2 separate regions of the Homo sapiens genome follow, and region 1 is linked to region 2. Evidence: promoter capture Hi-C in 16 types of primary human blood cells and fetal thymus (Javierre and others, 2016). All regions are on one chromosome and are shown on one strand. The core of a region is centred on a gene start or on the middle of the fragment in contact, and the rest is flanking DNA. Distances in the headings are between cores, read along the strand shown. Region 1 holds the start of PML (PML nuclear body scaffold). Region 2 holds the start of CSK (C-terminal Src kinase).

What was found. Contacts are between HindIII fragments. The CHiCAGO score rates a contact against its expected background, and 5 or more counts as called.
Region 1: a contact is called between a fragment that was not itself captured here and the fragment with the promoter of CSK in region 2, in 3 of 17 cell types (non-activated CD4 T cells, fetal thymus and total CD4 T cells). The highest score is 6.5, in non-activated CD4 T cells.

The regions. Positions count from the first base shown.
Region 1 is chr15:73,994,609-74,002,232 of GRCh38, forward strand. PML (PML nuclear body scaffold) reads left to right here and starts at 108. Exons shown (of 9, transcript NM_033238.3): 1 at 108-333; 2 at 3,396-3,868. The coding sequence starts at 205. It also overlaps a transcript of STOML1 not described here. RefSeq lists enhancers at 521-690, 2,980-3,482. The HindIII fragment of the contact is 4,510 bases long and covers 364-4,873 here.
Region 2 is chr15:74,778,603-74,785,713 of GRCh38, forward strand. CSK (C-terminal Src kinase) reads left to right here and starts at 3,478. Exons shown (of 13, transcript NM_004383.3): 1 at 3,478-4,118. RefSeq lists silencers at 26-320, 3,358-3,577, 3,688-3,947 and enhancers at 2,928-3,047, 3,068-3,137, 4,180-4,755, 5,638-5,767, 5,778-5,837. The HindIII fragment of the contact is 10,374 bases long and covers 1-7,111 here.

The DNA.
Region 1 (7,624 bases), core at 1,369-3,868, 780 kb before region 2:
GTCTTTAAAACCCACAGTCGGCCTCTCTGCCCCCTAGAACCGCCCCCAGCTTCTGTCTCACTTCCTCTCCAGAGGCGGGCCCTGAGCCGGCACCTCCCCTTTCGGACAGCTCAAGGGACTCAGCCAACTGGCTCACGCCTCCCCTTCAGCTTCTCTTCACGCACTCCAAGATCTAAACCGAGAATCGAAACTAAGCTGGGGTCCATGGAGCCTGCACCCGCCCGATCTCCGAGGCCCCAGCAGGACCCCGCCCGGCCCCAGGAGCCCACCATGCCTCCCCCCGAGACCCCCTCTGAAGGCCGCCAGCCCAGCCCCAGCCCCAGCCCTACAGAGGTACTATTGGGTTAGGGGATGATGGGGTTAAGCTTTGTTGGTTTGCTGTGGTGGGGAGAGGCGGGAAGAGAGGGTCTAACGGAGGATTTGGTCAAGTACCCTAGAGAGTGACACAAAGCGGGAAGTCCAGACACCAGGGTCCTGACCGTCTCGGGTGGGGCAGGGAAGGGAGGGTAGGATAGAGTAGAAAAGAGGACACGGAGGAGTTGGGGCGGCCTCGCTGGGCTGCGGTTTCTCCACTGAGCAGTTGGGCAAGGTGAGAAGGGTCAGTGGCCTCCGGGCCTGGGCCCTTCCGCCCACCCTCGAGCCCTGCCTCAACTTTGCCTCAGATGCAGGACTTCAGATTAGGGAGGATGGAGGTAGTACCCCTGTTGCGCTGGCCTGGAGCCAGGGGCATGTCCCAGGCACGGCAAAACTAAAACCAACTTCCCAGATCCGAGGTGAGAAACTGGCTCAGACTGAAGAGGTATCTTTGCCAAGGCCTCCCAGCTCATGTGGTTTCTGCTTAAGGAAGCCTCCCCAACGAACCCTTCTCTTGCCACACCTTTCCTGCCCACCTCCCACCTCCCCCGACAAAGGAACTACTTGGGTTTCTTGCTCTGCTGCCTTTCAGGCCCTTTTACTCCCCTTCATGAAAGTACAGAGGACACCGTATTACAGTAACTTTTATAAACATTATTACAACTAAGAATAACATTACTTAACAATACTAGGTAACATTTATGAGCACTTCAAATGTGCCAGGTACTGTATTAAGCACTTTGGTTTTTTTTTGTTGTTGTTTGTTTGTTTTGCTTTGTTTTTTGTTTGTTTGTTTATCTGTTTGTTTTTGAGACGGAGTCTCACACTGTCGCCCAGGCTGGAGTGCAATGGTGCGATCTCGGCTCACTGCAACCTCCTCCTTCCGGGTTCACGCCATTCTCCTGCCTCAGCCTCCCGAGTAGCTGGGATTACAGGCCACGCCACCATACCTGGCTATTTTTTATATTTTTAGTAGAGATGGGGTTTCACTATGTTGGCCAGATTGGTCTCTAACTCCTGACCTCGTGATCCACCCACCTCGGCCTCCCAAAGTGCTGGGATTACAGGCATGAGCCACCATGCCCGGCCTGTTTTTGTATTTTACAAAATGTGGTAAAATATACCTAATGGATAAGTTCCTATGTTAACCATTTATAAGTGTACCATTCAGTGGCATTAAGTAGATTCACAATATTGTGTAACCATCACCACCATCTATTTCCAGAACTTTTTCATTACTCCAGAAACTCTGTACTCTTTAAACCATAGGGGAGGGAAAGATGGCTTGCCTCCACCCTTCTAGTTTCCTTGGCTGGGCTATGAATTAAATAGCCTATGAATTAAATAGTCATAAAATAGATTACCAGCGGAAAACCCATATTTAATTACATATGTATACTCAGGAGTCCCACAATATATGAGACTCAAAGAAAGGTCAGATGATTGAAGCCTGTATAACATCCTGAGCTACGGAAAAGAGCTTGGAGCTTCTGGGTGATGGTGATAACACAAGTTATGGGAGGGTGAGGAGAGGAGCTGTTTGGTGAATAGAGGTTGTCTTGCTATGTAGATTAAAAGTTCTTAGATAATAAAAGTTGTCTGGAGCAGCCCTCTTTTAATATAGATCATTTTACTAATGTAGATTTTCTTTTAAGATATAAATGCCTTTCTTTTTTACAAAAGGAGAGCTTTTCAGAGCTATTCCTGTATCAGCAGTTTCTCAGAATAACCAGCTTAAAATATGCCAAAGAAGTATATTTCAAGAGCCTCCTGCAGTCATACTTTGAAGTGGTGTGTCCTGAGCCCCAGTAATGCAATAGCTCCTCATTTTCTCCTTCCCCTAGCCCTTGGTAACTTCTAATCTACCTTCTGTCCCTATGAACTTACTTATTCTAGATATTTCATGTAAGTGGAATTGTTACCAGTAGAGGATCTTGACTGCAAATTGTTCAGGTTCTTGGCATTTTGAACAAAGAATTGGACAAAATGTACAGCAAAGCAAGGAAAGAGTGAAGCAATGAAAGCAGAGATTTATTGAAAATGAAAGTACACCCCACAGGGTGGGAGCGGCTAGAGCAGGGCTCAAGGACCCCAGTTACAGAATCTTCTGGGTTCCAAATACCCCCTAGAGGTTTCCCATTGGCCACTTGGTGTTCACCCCATTGGTTGCAGAAAGCAACCAACCAGACGTACTTTCAATTTTCCATCTGCCCTGCAGGAAATGGGGTGATTTGCAAAGAGAGTAGCCTCTCTTCCTTTTGTTACTGAGGCATGGAGAGTTGCGGTTTTCCTTTCGATTTAGTTCTAGGAAGTCAGAGGGAATCGGCCTTAGGTTCCCTGCCTCCAGACCCTATTCTCCTGCCTCAGAATCATACAGTGTTTGACCTTTTGTGACTGGCTTATTTCACTTAGCATAATGTCATTGAGGTCTATCTATGTTGTAGCATGTATCAGAATTTCATTTCTTTCTAACGCTGAGTAATATTCCATTATATGTGTAGACCACATTTTGTTTATCTATTCATCTGTTGATGGATACTTGGATTGTTTCTACATTTTGTCTATTGTGAATAGTGTTGCTGTGGACATTGTTGTACAAGTATCTGTTTGGGCCTTGTTTTTACATCTTTTGGTTATATATCTAAGAGTGGAATTTCTGGGTCATATTGTTGTTCCATGCTTACCTCTTTAATGAACCCCCAAACTGTGCATTAAGCACTTTATATGAGGTTGGTACTTAGTGTATCTACCTTCCAAACTGAGTTCCTTGAAGGCAGAATGTATCCTACACCTCTTATATCTCAGAGCCTATTACTGTGGGTGATGAGAAGTAGATGCTCAATAAATGGTGCAGTGAGAGCTGGAGGGCCTGAATAAATGGGGGTATTGGGGTGCTGATAAGCCAGGGTTTTGCATCATCCAATGACTGGCTGGAATGGAATATGAGGTCCTACTCCAGGGTCCAGCTGTAAGGGTGGTTGGCCGGTAGGTGGGGGCTTTTGGGACTTCTCCAGGCCTCACCTGCCTCTCTGGTCCCCCAGCGAGCCCCCGCTTCGGAGGAGGAGTTCCAGTTTCTGCGCTGCCAGCAATGCCAGGCGGAAGCCAAGTGCCCGAAGCTGCTGCCTTGTCTGCACACGCTGTGCTCAGGATGCCTGGAGGCGTCGGGCATGCAGTGCCCCATCTGCCAGGCGCCCTGGCCCCTAGGTGCAGACACACCCGCCCTGGATAACGTCTTTTTCGAGAGTCTGCAGCGGCGCCTGTCGGTGTACCGGCAGATTGTGGATGCGCAGGCTGTGTGCACCCGCTGCAAAGAGTCGGCCGACTTCTGGTGCTTTGAGTGCGAGCAGCTCCTCTGCGCCAAGTGCTTCGAGGCACACCAGTGGTTCCTCAAGCACGAGGCCCGGCCCCTAGCAGAGCTGCGCAACCAGTCGGTGCGTGAGTTCCTGGACGGCACCCGCAAGACCAACAACATCTTCTGCTCCAACCCCAACCACCGCACCCCTACGCTGACCAGGTGAGTAGGCCGGCACAGGGTGGGGTGGTGCATCCAAGTACCAGGTAGAGGGCGAGAGGAGCAAAGATCCAAAGAGTCACACAGCTGAGGACAAGGAGCTTCTGGGGCCTTGCAACTCTAAATGTGGTCTGCAGATATGCAGTGTCCGTGTTGATGACCACAATTTATGCTGCCAGTCCCCACGCAGGTGGATAGTAAGTTTCCAGTTTCCTCCTGTAATAAATAATGCTGCAGAATCATCTTTGCATCTTTATCCAGTAACTTCTTTAGGATAAATTTTTAGAAGTGCCACTGCTGGGTGTAGGGGGACGGGAATTCTACATTTGATACATGTTACCAAACTGCCCTTTAGAATTTAGTGGAATTTTCCGAGAGCACTGACACGGAATCTCAGTAAGGCTGGATTCTAGGATCAGAGACAAGTAGTTAGTTTCTGTCTGAAAAGTTGAAACCATTAACACCAGGCAGCGCTATCTGAGAATGTCTGTATGGGGAAAAAAAATCACATCCAGTTGTAATTATTTTTATTAAACAGATTTTAACTCAGTTTTTTAATAGGTAATACATTCGTACAGTTCACGAACAAAATTTGTAAAGAGGAGAGAGAGAGTGCAATCTTCTGTCCATGCCCAACTGCCTAATTCCCACCACTTCTCCCTCTTCCCATCCACAGGTAGCCATTGTTACTAGTTTTGAATGTTTCTTCTGAGAGTTTCTTTACGAATATATATGCAGGTAGGAGCAATCTTATCAGGTCCTATTTTCCCTCTTTTAGCCAAAAAGGTAGCATAACTATGTGAACTTTTCACCATTAGCAATAGATTGTTCATAGAAGGCGCTTCTTGGTTCTTAGAGATCCACTTGCAAAATGAAAGCATTTTTCGCTGGTTTTTGACAACTCAGAACTATATATGGCTAAACCACATATTTGCTGAACTACATATCTGCTAAACTGACTGTGATTTGTTTCCTGCTTTAGGATAAACTTCCCACACTATCAGAATAAGCTTTCCCCTCCGACTCCTCAACAGCTGGTATCACCACGTTTCTTAGCTTATTGTAAAGGTTGAGTGGCTTTCCACTTGTTTATTGGCCATTGTGTTTCTGCATTTGCGAGTGGCCTGTTTAGGTCCTTTGCCTGTTGTTGTTGTTGTTTCCGTTGAGGAATTAAGGGACTAATTAAAGAATTCAGGAACAAATTCCTCGAAAGAAAAAAATGTATGCATTTCTTTTGCTCTTACAATTTATGCAGTTTTAAAACTTACATATTTATTGGATTTTGATTGAAATTGCAATAAATTAGGAGAAATTGGCTTTATCTCTGGTTCTATCTTTTGGATTTAAAAAATTTTTTTTAATTTTTTTTTTTTTTTTTTGAGATGGAGTCTCGCTGTGTCACCCAGGCTGGAGTGCAGTGGCGCGATCTCGGCTCACTGCAACCTCCACCTCCCGGGTTCACGCCATTTTCCTGCCTCAGCCTCCCAAGTAGCTGCGATTACAGGTGCACATCATCATGCCTGGCTAATTTTTTGGCATTTTTAGTAGAGACAGGGTTTCACTATAATGGTCAGGCTGGTCTCCTGACCTCAGGTGATCCACCTGCCTCGGCCTCCCAAAGTTCTGGGATTACAGGCATGAGCCACCATGCCCAGCCTTATACTAATTTCTTAATGAATTTGTAAGCTTTCATGTTTTGAACGTGATAATGCAGCCATCCCACGGGATCCATGGGAGTCTGTTTCAAATTCATAGATGCTCAAGTCTCTGATATAAAATGGCATAGTATTTGTATATAACCTCTACACATCCTCCTGTATACTTTATTTTTTATTTTATTTTTATTTTTTGAGACGGGGTCTTGCTCTGTCGCCCAGGCTGGAGTGCAGTGCTGCACTCGTGGCTCACTGCAGCCTCAATCTCTTGGGTTCAAACAATCCTCCCACCTCAGCCACCAGATTATACAGGACTGCAGGTGTGCACCACCACACTCAGCTAATTTTTAAATTTTTTGTAGAGACAGGGTTTCACGACATTGCCCAGACTGGTCTTGAGAACTCTTGGGCTCAGGCAGCAACCCTCCCTAGGCCTCTCAAAGTGCTGGGATTACAGGTGTGAGCCACTGTACCCATCCCCTCCTGTATACTTTAAGTCATCTCTAGATTACTTATAATGCCTAATACAATGTAAATGCTATGTAAAGAGTTGTTTTACTATATTTTTGAATTTGTATATTTTTTTATTGTGGTACTTTTTTAATTGATTTTTTTTCGCCTGAATATTTTTGATCCAAGATTTGTTGAATCCACGGGTGCGTAACCTGCAGATACTGAGGGCCAACTGTACATATAAATTGTTTAGCGTAGTGCCTGGCACATATTAAATACTCAGTGAATGTTAAAATTCTATTATAATTTCTCTGCTCTAGAACAATTTGAAGAATATAAGAAATTTAGGCTTATAAAAGTTTTTTGAAAAACCATCTTGGAACTGGTGCCTTTTTTATAGTAGATTTTTGGGAACTTTTCCCATTTTTGCCATGGCATTAATCTGTTTTGGCTCTTGTGTCAGATTTTTGGAAGATTTTCCAGTTCATCCTGAGTTATCTTTCATTATTTAAAAATCTCCTATATGCCTGTAACTATACCCCCTTTTTTTATTTCTGATGTTGTATATTTGTGGTTTAGCAGTCTTTTCAAAGTACTGTACTTTTAGTCTTTCCTTAGATTGCTTACTGATTTTAATGTTTTCCTTCTTTCTGTTTGATCATTTTATTTTTGTCATTTTCTTCCTTCTAACTTTTGTCATTATTCATTTTCTAGCTTCTTGAACTTATAATTCATTTATTTGCAATCTTTATTGTTTAATAATAATAACTTTTTTTTTTTTGAGAATCTCCCTCTGTCACCCAGGCTGGAGTGCAGTGGTAGATCTTGGCTCACTGCAACCTGTGCCTCCTGGGTTCAAGTGATTCTCCTGCCTCAGCCTCCCCAGTAGCTGAGACTACAGGTGCCCACCACCATGCCTGGCTAATTTTTTTTATTTTTAGTAGAGACGGGGTTTCCCCATGTTGACCAGGCTGGTCTCGAACTCCTGGCCTCAAGTGATCCACCCGCCTCAGTCTCCCAAAGTTCTGGGATTACAGGCGTGAGCTACAATGCCCTGCCTAATAATAACTCTTTTAAGGCATAAGTTCTCTGTATATGGTTTTGGCTGTATGCCATAACTTTGATAACTTCATTAGTGTTCTCATAGTCAATCATTTCTCAAATTTCATTTCAGTCTTTTCTTAAAAAGGTTCTCTTGCTTAAGGTCAAGAGTTCGAGATCAGCCTGGGCAACATAGCAAGACCTCATCTTTACAAAAAATAAAAAAAATTAGCCAGGCATGGTCGGTGGTACATGCTTGTAGTCCCAGTTATTTGGGAGGTTGAGGCAGGAGGGTTGCTTGAACCTAAGAATTTGAGCCTGCAGTGAGCTGTGATGGTGCCACTTCACTCCAACCAGAGCATCAGAACCGGACCCTGACTCGAAAAAAAAAAAAAAGAAATTTTTTTCTCTTGAAAAGTTTTAGAGAATAGTGTTTTCTAAAATTTTCAAGTGGTTTTGATGTTTGGTTTCTTGTTCTGTCACCCAGGCTGGAATGTGATGGTGCGATTTCATACTTGTTAATTTCTGCACTATGGCCAGTTTATACAGTTTGTATGAGTTCTACATCTAAGACTATATTGAGATTTTCTTAGCGGCCTAGGATATTCCT
Region 2 (7,111 bases), core at 2,228-4,727:
CTCATATGATAAAACCTAAACTCCTGTAATAAAAATCTCTGGCCCACAACACCCTATAGAATCTGTCCCTTCCTCAAACACCACTCTCCCCTGCTTGCCGGTCTCATCACCTTGGCCTTCTGGCTGTCCCTTGAGCCACTGAGGCTTTCTGTGCCTCAGGGTCTTTCACTATCTTCCTCCCCACCTGCAATACCCTCCCCCACTCCTCCAACACTGGCCTGGGGCGTGGTGGCTATCGCCCGTAATCCCAGCACTTTGGGAGGCCAAGGTGGGTGGATTATTTGAGGTCAGGAGTTTGAGCCCAGCCTGGCCAACATGGTGAAAACCATCGCTACTAAAAACACAAAAATTAGCTGAACATGGTGGCACACACCTATAGTACCAGCTACGTGGGAGGCTGAGACAGAAGAATGGTTGAATGCCAGAGCGGGAGGTTGTGGTGAGCCGAGATCATGCCACTGCACTCCAGCCTGGGCAACAGAACAAGACTCCGTCTCAAAACAAACAAACAAAAAACAAAACAAAACAAAACAAAAACTTACTAAGACAGTTGTAGATAAAGGCAGATTTATTAGAAAAAGTAGGAAAATACATTGCAAGAAGGCAGAAGAGAAGCTGACTGCCAGGAAACAAAAGGTTGTTGGAGATTTTATAGAATTAGTGTTATGCTATCTGTTGAGGAGGTTTTTGTGCAGTATCAAACGCCAAGGGTACAGTGAGCTAACTTGCCAAGGGTACAGTGAGCTAACTTGCAGGAGTCTGGTGATAGTCGGGCACAGGAAGATTGTGAATTATTTGCACAGGAGAGCTATATGTCCTAGACATGAAGAAAGGCAGACTCACAGCTTATCTAATTTCTCTTTTTGCTTTCCCTTGCTCCCACCGACCAGATTCCCTTTCCCTAATTAGCACTTCCCACCTAGCACTTAGTAGGTGCTCAATAAGCATTTGTTTTTTTGTTTTGTTTTGTTTTGTTTTGTTTTTTTGAGACAGAGTCTCGCTCTATTGCCCAAGCTGGAGTGCCGTGGCGTGATCTCGGCTCACTGCAAGCTCCGCCTCCTGGGTTCACACCATTCTTCTGCTTCAGCCTCCCCAGTAGCTGGGACTACAGGCACCCGCCACCACGCCCAGCTAATTTTTTGTATTTTTAGTAGAGACAGGGTTTCACCATGTTAGCCAGGATGGTCTCGATCTCCTGACCTTGTGATCTGCCTGCTTCGGCCTCCCAAAGTGCTGGGATTATAGGTGTGAGCCACGGCGCCCAGCCCAATAATTCCACCAGAGGACAGGTCTGTGGGAGTGGGGCCCTTTATCGATTTGTTTATGGTTTTATCCCCAGTGCCTGGAGTACAGGAAGATTAAAAAATTTATTTCACTTTGCTGAGAAGAGGTGGAGCCAGGATTCAAATGCTGGTCTATTTGACTCCAAAGTTCACAGCTGGGCCACAGCACACCCAGGGGAAAAAGTCAAGTGCATTTGGGGATAAAGAAAGGTTGGTGACAAAACTGGAACAGGGATTAGAGTATTTTCCCCAAATCCCCAGTCTTTTCTTTCCCATTCTGCTAGCTGATTCAGCCAGGGGAGGGGAGATGTCAATTTCTCCCTCCCAGAAGGCTTTGCAGAGCTGCTGAAGTGCTTTCTTGTAGGCTGAGAGGCGGCCCCCCATCCGGCCCCATATTATCATTCCATCTTGACCTCAGAGGAAAGAAAGGGAAACCAGCTCTGCTGAGCACCCTTTCCACTCCCTCACCCCCAGGCCGTTATCTTGCTGAATCTGCACTATCTATCATGAGAGAAGTATATTTTGAGCCTGATCTTACAAAAGAGGAAACAGCTCAGAGACCTTAGGTAACTAGCCCTAAGTCACACAGCTAGTAAGTGGACGGGTTGAAATTTAACTTGGAGACTTGAACCCCAAATTCATCTTTTTTCTGTTACACCACACCTATCTCTGAAACTTACTGGCTGTCTCCTCAAAGGACATCCCTCTCCAAAGGGCTGGCTCCAGCTGGGAAACCGGCCTAAGGGTGCCCTGGGTCAGAGGGCCGACCTGTGGTTTTGGGGGCAACTCCTCCTGGCATCCGAGGCTCTTTAAAACAATCTGCAGCCACACTGTCTCCCAGCTCCGTCTCCCACAGGGCTGTTTGCCCTCTTCTCGCTCCCTCGGGCCTCTTCATGCTTATTTTGTGTTCCAAGACTTTGTCAGCATGCCCCACTTCCTCCCCCCCAACCCCAAGAGTGCCTCTTCCCTCTGTCCACCCAAGCCTGACCCTTGCTTCAGGGTCTAGTCCCTAGAAAGTCCCCCACCTTTACCTCCTCCCTACGCTGGAGTCTCTGGTCTCGCCCTCATCACTGTATCCCCATTCTGTTCCCCGGTCTCACCCTCATCACTGCATCCCCATTCTGTTCCCCCGCCACCCTGCACTCTCCCACCCCTGTCATGCCTGAGCACGCTGTCCTCTCCTGTGGCTCAGAGCAGGTCATCTCCCTGCTTTTCGTTAACAGTGATGTAACAGCCCTTGCTTAACGGAGGGCTCCTCACGTGCCAGCTACTGCATACTAAGCACTTTAAACGTATTAACTCATTTCCTCCCCTCCCCACAAAAACTTAAGAAGTCGGTGCCATTATATATCACCTATTTTACCAAATGGGGAAACTAAAGCACAGAGAGGTTAAGTAACTTGCCCAAGGTCACAGAGCTGCTGACAACTTCTTTATTGCCTCCAGGCTGAACATAAACTCCAAGAAAGTCCCATGAGGCTCTTTGGATCTCTTTTGCCCCTGTTGTTTGCAGGAACCCATCTCCCACCACTCTCCCCCACCCACACTGCAAGCGGCAGCCGCCTGAGCTATATTTAGATCCCAGAAGCCACCAAGCTCCCTCCGCACTCCCCGCCCTTGTGCATGCTGTTCCCTCTGCCTGGTCCCGGCTCTGTGAGGTGTGAGGTCTCCCCGTTAGCCCTAGTTTTCTTTCTGCCTCCTGGGAACCGTGTCCACCACCTCTCCACTTTGATCAATTATTTCCTTGCCGTTGTCTGTCGGCCTGTCAGCCTACCCCCACCCGACCGAGAACGCCTTGACGGTAGTGAAATGGTCTTGCCAATAGACTCCAGAGCAGGCTCCGCCACGATGTCAGCGCCAGGAAATGTTGGTGAATGAATGAATGAAGGCTTTCTGCTGCGAATCAGGCCCACTCTCCACAAACAGACCTGAGGAGAGGGGCCCAGGCCCGGCCCCCAGCGCTTCTGCAGCGGGAAAGCTGCGTCCAGAGAAGGCTGGGAGGTTGCTCCCAGGCCGGCTGAGGAGAGACCCTCGGAGCCTTCAACGCAGCCAGGCGGCAAGTGGGGGCAGGGCGTGGGCGCGGACACACCCCCCGCAGTGCCCCCGGCGCCCGGCAGGGGGCGCCGCCCCGCCGGCCCACGCCCCGCCGCGCGCCGGGCAGGCCCCCTCGCGCAGGCGCGCTGCCGCGGGCGGAGGATCCGGGCCGCGCTTCCTCTCGCCAGGCCTGCGAGCTTCCTCCCAGCGGAGCCCTGGGCGAGCCGAGGTTGGCCGCCGCCGCCGCCGAGCCCGCTGCCGCCCTCCCGCTCCTGCCCCACCCGCGCCTTGCCCGGGGGCTTCTGCCGGGGTGGGGTCCGAGCCGGGCGACCGCCCGGCTGCGCCGCCGTCGGGGCCGTAACCCGGCCCGCCGTCCCTCCCGCCCCAGCCAGCCTCTGGCCGCCGGAGCCCGCGGGGCGTGGAGCGCGAGGAGCCCCGCGGCCCCGATCGAGCGTCCGGGGCGGCCCCCGGCAGCCAGCGCGACGTTCCAAAATCGAACCTCAGTGGCGGCGCTCGGAAGCGGAACTCTGCCGGGGCCGCGCCGGCTACATTGTTTCCTCCCCCCGACTCCCTCCCGCCCCCTTCCCCCGCCTTTCTTCCCTCCGCGACCCGGGCCGTGCGTCCGTCCCCCTGCCTCTGCCTGGCGGTCCCTCCTCCCCTCTCCTTGCACCCATACCTCTTTGTACCGCACCCCCTGGGGACCCCTGCGCCCCTCCCCTCCCCCCTGACCGCATGGACCGTCCCGCAGGCCGCTGATGCCGCCCGCGGCGAGGTGGCCCGGACCGCAGTGCCCCAAGAGAGGTGAGTGCCTGGCCGTCCCGGAGTGTCCCCTGGAGGGAAGAGGGTGGAGGTCGCGCGTCTAGTCTCTGTTGCTGCCACTGTCGCGTCCACTCCCATTCCCCTCTTCTCCCACTTCTCCCTTCTCTCCTTTACTCCCTTGCACGGGTTCGAATTCTCCCAGGAGCCACTGTCAGAACCCAAATTGGAAGGGAGTGCATGAGGGAGGTACTGCCCTGCAGCTCCACGGACTCGTCTTCTCGGGTCATCCCGAGTCCCCCCCTCTGTGGAGCTCAGAGTAGGAGGTGGCTGGAGTCTGGAGGAAGAGGATCCGTATGGGCCAGGTCCCTAGAGAGAGTGCTGGACTCCCCTGCCCTTCCCTGTACAGGGCCTCCCCGCAGGTGCCCTGGCTTGCTTGGTTCTGACCCCTCCCTCATTACCCCACCATGACCCTGCGGGCTGCAAGCAAGCCCAGGGCCCAGCCACCTCGGGTGAGCAGTTAGAAGCCCAGGTCCTAGGACTGAGCCTGTCACCCTTGGCCTCTCAGAAGACCAGGCCTAAGCCAAGGGATCTTTGGGTGGGAAACTGGGCAGGCCTTCTGCCCGGGGGGAGGTAACGGAGCATTAGCACCATGCCCCCACCTTCTGGCACCCTGGGCAGCCCATTCTCCTAGGCTCTTTGTGGCCCAGACCAGGTGTCAGGAAGGGGTGTGTCCAGCCAGCAGATTTTTTGGAGCTTAACTACCAGTTCACTTCCCCGCCCATTTTGTACACCCGGGAACCGAGGCTCAAAGGGAGAAGTTGCTACCCCAGGCCTCTAGTGGAGTTAGGCTGGCTGTCCTTTCATCCCCAGCTATACAGGGCTGGATGGCTGTGGGTGGAAGGAAACCAGGCAGGCACCTTCACCCACTGGGGACACAGGCCCCCAGCCCGGCCCCAGAGGGACCTTGTTGGTTGAGCACGTGCTTCCCTGCAGAGGGCTGGAGGGAGTGAAAGGGCTTCCGGCTCCAGCTGTGGCTGGGTCAGCTAGCAGGAGATGTGGGGAATGTGTGGTGTATGGCCATCTGTGTGGTGTGGCAGGAAGGTCCGGTCCTGGCCCCGGCTCTGAGTTGAAACAACCTGGTGGTCAGTCCTGACCCAGCACTCGCCACACCTATGGCCCAGCTGGCACAGGAGCAGCCAAGTTCAGGATATAAATGGGGTCACATGGGAACCGTGGAAGCTCTGTCTCCACTGGCAGCAGGCTACAGACTGGGGACATGGGAGCATTGTGAGAGTGGGGACACCCAGGGGGCCTGTTTCAAGCTCCTAGTACCCTGGCGGTTCCAGTGTCTTTCTTGGTTGTGGCCACAGCAGGAACAGGGCAAGGACAGCAGGGGTGAGGTTGAGGCCTGGCAGGATCCTCTGGCCCAGGAGAGCAGGCATTGCCCTGGTGGGTGCTGAGCAGTGTCTGGGCTCCCTTGGAGCTGCTGGCAGTTTTGTCCTGCTGGGTCCCTGCTCACGATTTAGGGTTTTTTTGTTTTTTCACTTTTTTTTCTGGCTGTCCTGACATGCACAGTGGAGGGGACCCAGATGTCCTGGGCCTGTGAGACTCCCCTCACATGGCCCCACACCCAGCCCTAACTTCCTTTCCAGCCTGAGGGACTGGGGCTGGAGCCTGACATGGTTAGCTCCCTCCCACCCCAGTCAGCCTTTTTAATTTTTATTTTATTTTATTTTATTTTTTTACCAACTGTGAGCTGTGAAGGTGTGATCCAGGGTCCCAGGGCCTTTGAAGAAAGGAGTCTGGCTTCTGGCTGGCACGTGTGCAGGGATGTGCTTTTCATTGGTGAGCTTGGTGCCCTCCACCCTCTCAGAAGCAGCTGCTCTTCTCTCTGCATTGGGTCAGGGGCAAGGAAAAAGCAGAAAATGTTCCCATTCACCACCGCAGGGGGGCCAGACCCCAAAAGGCTGAGCCACACAGAGTGGCCCTCGGCAAGGGTTGGAAATTTCGGGGACAGAATGCAGCTTCCTCCAAACAAGTATAGGTAGGGGTTGAGACCCAGGATCCACAGTGTGACATGGCTGCCCCCCAAAGGGGGCAGACCCACCTGGGTGCGGTTCTGGGCTCCATCTTTTGAAGGATTTTAAAACCTTGACAGGTCATCTTCAAAGAGCCAGGGATGTTGACTGAGTCTGGGAAAGAGAAAGTAGGGACAGATTCTCATATGTCTGAGGGACTGTCCCAAATGAGAAAGGCATCCCATGGCAGAAATTGTCCCAGACACGTGGGCCAGAGCTAGGGAGCAGGTGGGTCCCAGGGAAGTGAATCTGAGCTCATTATAGGGAAACCATGAATGTACTCATTTTCTTGATTTAGAAAATAACAAAACAGCGCTACAGGAAATTTAGAAAATGAAACAAAAATCACCCACTATTTCTTCAGCAGGCAGTGACTGTGTTAGCATTTTGGAGTTCACTGCCAGTCTTTTCCCCATCCTTTTCCTTCATTGTCGTTGTCACTGGAGTGTGTGTGCCGTGACACCTTTTTTCATTTAATACTGCGTCTGTGGGCATTTTCTCATGGTGCTACGCGGTCTAAGTAACGTTGCTTCTAAAAAGCTACAGAACATTCTAGGCTGGCCTGCTGCAGCGCCATCACCCATACACTGGAGCGTGTGCATTTTTCCCCTCTGTTGCTGTTGTGGTTGTCGTTACTATGAGTCCCAAAAGCAGCCAGGGTGTTGGAGGGCACAAGCAACTTGGCACCCAACTGAATGTGGGTTCCAGGCCCAGACATGCCACTTAGGCCCAGGGTAGAGGGACCTTAGACAGGTCACTGACCTGCTGAGCCTCGTTGATATAAATAACAGGATGGTAACACCTACTTCAGAGGAAGGTGTAAGGACAGTGTCAACTAACTAACCAAGGGACTCTAAAGTGCCTGGCACAGCCCTTTCTTCACTCCCTCTGTGAGTAGGATTGGCATTGTTGAAGGAGTGCCCACTGCTGGCTGCCTCAACCTGTGGGGAAGGTGCC